2 separate regions of the Homo sapiens genome follow, and region 1 is linked to region 2. The links are contacts of gene promoters, found by promoter capture Hi-C in blood cells and fetal thymus (Javierre and others, 2016). All regions are on one chromosome and are shown on one strand. The core of a region is centred on a gene start or on the middle of the fragment in contact, and the rest is flanking DNA. Distances in the headings are between cores, read along the strand shown.

The links. The method cuts DNA at HindIII sites, captures the fragments that hold promoters and counts their contacts. A CHiCAGO score of 5 or more calls a contact.
Region 1: a fragment that was not itself captured here is called in contact with the fragment with the promoter of WDR35 in region 2 in 1 of 17 cell types (M2 macrophages); the score reaches 5.2 in M2 macrophages.

Annotation. Positions count from the first base shown.
Region 1 is chr2:20,294,762-20,297,867 of GRCh38, reverse strand. PUM2 (pumilio RNA binding family member 2) reads left to right here. Exons shown (of 21, transcript NM_015317.5): 8 at 190-315. Among named protein-coding and RNA genes, the nearest start is that of PUM2, 55 kb to the left of the region's middle. The HindIII fragment of the contact is 1,909 bases long and covers 503-2,411 here.
Region 2 is chr2:19,988,691-19,991,707 of GRCh38, reverse strand. WDR35 (WD repeat domain 35) reads left to right here and starts at 1,603. Exons shown (of 27, transcript NM_020779.4): 1 at 1,603-1,716; 2 at 2,426-2,543. The coding sequence starts at 1,693. It overlaps WDR35-DT (WDR35 divergent transcript), which reads right to left and starts at 1,504. Exons shown (of 3, transcript NR_110235.1): 1 at 1,214-1,504. RefSeq lists a silencer at 1,383-1,462 and enhancers at 1,623-1,672, 1,303-1,806, 1,823-1,872. The HindIII fragment of the contact is 12,234 bases long and covers 1-3,017 here.

The sequences.
Region 1 (3,106 bases), core at 208-2,707, 310 kb before region 2:
TTCTTAAATGAAAACTAATTTAGAGTTAGCGGTACATGCCCAAGGTCACTTAGTAAAAATTTGAACCATTATGCACACTCTGCTCCCCACCCCCACACCACCCCAGATTCAGAGTAGAAATGTTTTTATCTAATGAAAAAAATCATACTTTACATTGTTGTTTATTATTTCTCCCCTTTTAAAATATAGCTGGTGTATTCTCAGCAGGCCTTGCTCCAGCTGCATTTGTGCCAAATCCATACATTATTAGTGCTGCTCCTCCAGGGACCGATCCGTATACTGCAGCAGGATTGGCTGCAGCAGCTACATTAGCAGGTAACATACTATTTGTTCATCTTTATTATGGTTGCTTTTTAATGTATTTAGTTTTGGGTGTAAGCTTTATTTTTCTCTATTTGGGCAATTTGAAATTCCTAAGAAAAACTGAAACATTATCCAGAATGAACTAAAGTTTCCAGGAAGTTAGTACTATTTTTCAACTGTAATGCTACAGGGAAAAGCTTAAGCAATAACTTTTCCTCGTATACGTAATTGGCTTACATTTCAGCTTTATAGTTTTAGAAATCTATATAGTCAACCATGAATCTCCATTTTAATGACAAACCCCATTACCCGCAGAGACAATGCAAAGTAAAATTACTTCTCAGAAAATAAAATAGAGGTAGGTGGCCTGCATACATAGGTCAGGGGTAGAATAGAGTAAGATAAACAGATACAGTAATTCTGAGAAAATATGTATCTAAAATTTCTTGAGCAATGCTAAAATGTACAAACAAGGTGGGGGACAAAAAGTTTGGATCAAGTTGGAAAGAACGTACTAAAAACTGCCCAGCCTGAGACTACCACCCAGAATCTGAAATAAAAGCCAAAGCTGGCCAGGTGCAGTGGCTCACACCTGTAATCCTAGCTCTTTGGGATGCCGAAGCGCCTGGCCTGGGTGACAGAGTGAGACTGTCTAAAAATGAAAACAACAACAAAAAAGCTGTATTTATTGTCTGTGTAAGTAAGGAAAAGTTGTGTGCTGATCAGGCACAGTCTTATTTGAACAAAGCGATTTGCTGATCTTAGTTGGGGTTCTTGGGAAGAGTTTGTTTTAGGTTGAGGTGGCTACAAAGACAGAAATGAGTTAGTCTGAGGCATTGTTTATATTGATTATACAGGCAAGAATAGGTTGATATCTGCCTTAGAATTTTGTTTATTGGAATGAGTCTGCTAATGGGCTGACTTTCAAAACTTGAGGCTGTCCCTGTTGTTTTTGGGGGGGCTGGGGGGGCTTTGAGCGATATCTTGACTGAAATATTGTCACTAATCAGTTTGAAACCCACTTCTGACAGTCAGTATTTTCCTAGGAGACTGACTTTTTTTTTTTTTTTGAGACAGAGTCTCGCTCTGTTGCCCAGGCTGGAGTGCAGTGGCACGATCTCGGCTCACTGCAAGCTCCGCCTCCCGGGTTCACACCATTCTCCTGCCTCAGCCTCCCGAGTAGCTGGGACTACAGGCGCCCACCACCACGCCTGGCTAATTTTTTGTATTTTTCGTAGAGACGGGGTTTCACTGTGTTAGCCAGGATGGTCTCCATCTCCTGACCTTGTGATCCGCCTGCCTCGGCCTCCCAAAGTGCTGGGATTACAGGCGTGAGCCACCGCGCCCGGCCAAGACTGATTTTTAAAGTCAAGATCTTGTTTTAAAAAACGGGGAAGAAATTTCAGATTTATATTTGATATCTTAGCTACGACAATGAAACTAAGCTGTCATTAGCTTTTGGTGTGGACTTGGATGTGATTCTATAAGGATGTGAGCTTTTCTGGTGCCATTTAACTGGATGTTACTATGTAAAGTGTTGGTATAATACAGAGAACCACTAAACTGTGGGTCTGATAGAAGTAACTTGAAGAGGTCATTTAGTTTGTGTATAAGCATTCTATGTATTTTGGACTTAAGTTTTCTAGGACCAGCATTGTCCAGTAGAAATACAATGTGAGCCAGAAAATGTAGTTTAAGATTTTGTAGTAGTCACAATATAAAAGTAAAAAGCAATAAAATTAATTTCAATAATACTCTTTAATTTGTCCCAACATATCCAAAATATAATAATTTCAGCATGTTAATAAATTCAGGCTCCTGGCTAGGTTGGATGAGTTTCTAGGTAGATGTTATGAATAGAGTTTACAAAACTTATATTTTTTATAATATATCCTTTCATTTTTACAATGTGTCCTTTTTATTTTATTTTTACGATGTATCCTTTTCATTGTTTTATTTTTACGGTGTACCCTTTTTATTATTTTTACAATGTATCTTTTTATTGTTTTATTTTTACAATGTACCCTTTTTTTGGTAAACTCTATTCGGTGTTTTAATAGTCCTCATTTCAGGTTCAGCTTACCTGGCTATCTGTAGAAATAAAAGCTTTTTATTTTAGTGATTCAGTCAAATATACTGGGCTTTTTTCCCCTTTGAATGCAACGTGAAACCGAGAGTTTGACTTTTAAAAATACATTAATACAAATAAAGATGTCCTAAAATTCCACTGATAACATTTTAGGACATGTTTGTTATGTAAGTCAGGAATCATGACATTTTATTCATTACTTTAATGGTGAAGCTTATTGTGCATAAAACTATTTACTTTCTAGGAATCAAATATTATCTTGAATAAAGTAGACTAGAGCAGGAACAATTTATTCTTATTTTCCTAGTTTCCCTTCTATTTTTCTTTCTGCTTATATTATCTAGTGCTTTCTTGTCTTGACTCAGTTTCATTTTCCTAACCACATAAATGCTGACGTCTCATTTGTTTTCTTATAATTTGCAGTTGTTCTGTGAGAATCGTGACTGAAATATGAAAAATATTTTAAAATTTAAGGTTTTCAACTCAAATACCATTGTAGCATGCTTGGTACCAGAATGTTCCCCAGTTTTGTGTTATAGATTGGAAAGTAAAATATTTTAAAAGTATCTTGTAATCCATCTCAGTAGTCAAAATTCTCTGAGAGAAACGATGAATGAGCATTTAAAAAATCTTAGTTTTATGGAATCTGTGTTCCCTGAATATATTATCTGTATAGTGTCAGACCCAAAAATTGGCATTCATTAAATGTTGAAT
Region 2 (3,017 bases), core at 354-2,853:
TTTTTTGAGCCCAAAATCAGTAATACATATTAATATACCACAGAGAAATGGTGGTATAGAAGGAATAAATGAGAGTTCATGTGCAAGAAGGGAAAGATAAAGAGAGGTGAGTTTTCAGGTGTCACCATCAGTAACTAGCTTCAACTAATTATGTCTTGACCAGTTTATTGGAAACTCCTGGGTTAGATAATACTAATTTGTCTCATGCGTCCAGTATAGGGAGCCTATGGACAGGGGCCAATGTATCTTAAACAGACACACAAACAATGGAAAGCAAACATTATCTGAATGGGATTGGGTTAAGTTTGGAAAGAATTCCTCATGGAGACTGATTTGTGCTGGTTTGGCTAGGCACAACTGGCCTGTTAAGAGGGTAGGACCATATATAAAGTGGCTTGGGAAGCAGAGCCGGATGGAATGTTGCCCTGCAGAAAGCATATTGGCTTACTTGAGGTGGGGGCTCCCTAGTAAAAACATTTAGGATTGAGGGAAGATCTGATTTTGGATGGAGTTTAGATTTGCTAGGAAAGGCACTAGGGACTATTGTCAATTCTATAATAGATTGTGCTGGGTGAGACAAATCACCCAGGTCAAAGGATTGGAGGATTTTTATTTTATTTTTGTCTGAGATGGGAAAAGACTCCAAGTGGGGAAATTAACTACTGATGCATAAATTACATGCTAGATTATGGTAAAAGGGAAAACCAGAAATAAAAACATAGGTGAGACCAAATAATTTCATGAGTGGTTCTACTTGGATTTCTGCCCTATGCCTTAGACTTTGAGGCTTTGTAACTCTCAAGCATTCCAAAAGGACAAAGGAGAATGAAGAAAGAAGGTAAGAAAAAGAAGAGAATATGTAACAGTCGACTCTAGACGAGAAAACACCAAACGCTCAAATATTTGTAAAATGGGAGGCCATGCCCCAATAGCAATTGTACGCTGTAATTACCCAACGTTTACAGAAATTCCTTTAAAAGGACCCTCGGGGTTGCGGTAATAATTAAACTGTTAAAAAATATCAAAACAAGCGGAATAAACAAAATCTTCTATTCCTAAATTGCTCTAGAGGTTCTCCAATCCCCAAAGACACAGAGAAGGGTTGTAAGATCTCAGTACGCACATTTGCACTTTCATCTGGCCAGTGGCGCCAGCCTATCAAATACAGTAAATGGCTTTTCCCTTTCAAGAATGTTGGAACTTTGGAACTTACAAAATACTAAATAATTTGCCCTTATTCGAACGGGCGCCTCTCCTCTTAGGTTTATAGTAATGCCACCTGAGGCGCGGCTCCATAGCGATCATCACAGGTGTGGCGGGAGGGAGGGCGGCAGTGACCACGAGACGGGGCGCAGAGGGCGAGCGCACGGCTGGCAGTGACAGGTCGCGACCCAGCTCCTTGCGGAGAGCAGAAAGGCCCAGACGCCAGGGAACAGGACTAGCCCAGCTACCGCCTCGCGCCTCGCGCCCTGCGCCCACAAACCCATCGACGTCCGCGCAGGCGCACTACGCCGGTGCCCGGTGCGAGGGCGTCACCGGAAGTGTCCCGCGGCGCCCCGGATGCGACCGGGCAACAGCGGTTGCCAGGGCGACGGGAGCTTTCCGGAGCTGCTGGTACTCCCGATTGGAGACGTAGAACCGTTACTTGTCGAGGGCCTTAGCGGCCGCCGTGACCCTCTCGGGGATCCCACGATGTTCTTCTACCTGAGCAAGAAAGTGAGTTTCCTGGGGGGCGTCCTCGTTTCTCCGCCATTCCCGCAGCCTGCGGCGATTCCCGCTGCCTTCCCGAGAAGCCAGGCTCCTTCACCCGGTCCTGGTCGTGGCTTCGCCATTCCGCAGCCATCCTTCCCGCCGGGTCCAGCCTCCGACCTCTTCCTGCGGTTCCCAGAGCCTCAGTCTTTGGCCGAGCTTGCTGCCCTCTCGCAGCACTCTCCCATTCCTGCCCCTGGCTAGGTCCTTTTGGGTGGCTTGAGGATAAGTCGCCACGTGCTACCCTATGTTTCCTCCTCCACTTGTTGCTGATCCACGTGATTTAAACTCTTTGGATCACCACGAGCCATTGGGCAAGAGAAAAGAAATAACAATAGGATAGCCTAAGTTGTAGGTAAAAAGGAAGAGGGACTGGTGGTATGGATTTATACCCTCTCCCCGTCCTCCCTTTAAAAAATCCATCCGGTGAGACTCTGGCGTTGGCTTCCTCCGCAGTCACTATCCTTCTCTTTTGTGCACTTCTTTCCCTCTTTCCCAAATGCTAGAGCCCGGGTCAGTTCAGGGGACCATGCCCATTTTCACAACAGCTCATTTTTTTTCTGCAAGGCCGTTCGTTTTTCTTCTTGGAAGATTTTCTTCAGCTTTCATCTCCTGCAGACTTACTTCCCAGCTCCTTCGTGAAAAGTTGCTAGTGCGGCTGTGGTTGCTTTTTCAGATTTCCATTCCCAATAACGTGAAGCTGCAGTGTGTATCCTGGAACAAGGAACAAGGGTTCATAGCATGCGGTGGTGAAGATGGATTACTGAAAGTTTTGAAATTAGAGACGCAGACAGGTAAATGAATGCAAGCCCACATGTTTGGTAGTAAATTGGCTAATGTTATTTGTTCAGTGCGGTCTACTCATGTTATCTGTCAATATGCAGTTCTGATTATTTTAAAGGGAAAACTACCAAAACATTTTATGGTGTTTTTCTGGAGTATATTTGCAATAAAGTTCAGAGAATGTTGAATGTAAACATCGGATGGTTTTTGCTGAGTTATTAATGGAAAATGAAAAATAATGAAGAATGAAAATAAGTCACTGTGTTATGCTATGTCTAATTATTGTACTATATTATTAGGAGTCTAAAAGAAATCCTGTGAGTCAACATTTCACTAAGAAAATCTGGCAGATTGTTTACAGGTCTGTGTCATCCTTTCTGCTTATCAGATGCATTAATGGTTATTCACCTAGTGTCCAAGAACAGAAAATGGGATACGTTTTACATTTCTATTAGTAGGTCTCTTGTCTTTGCTGCTTGATTTCT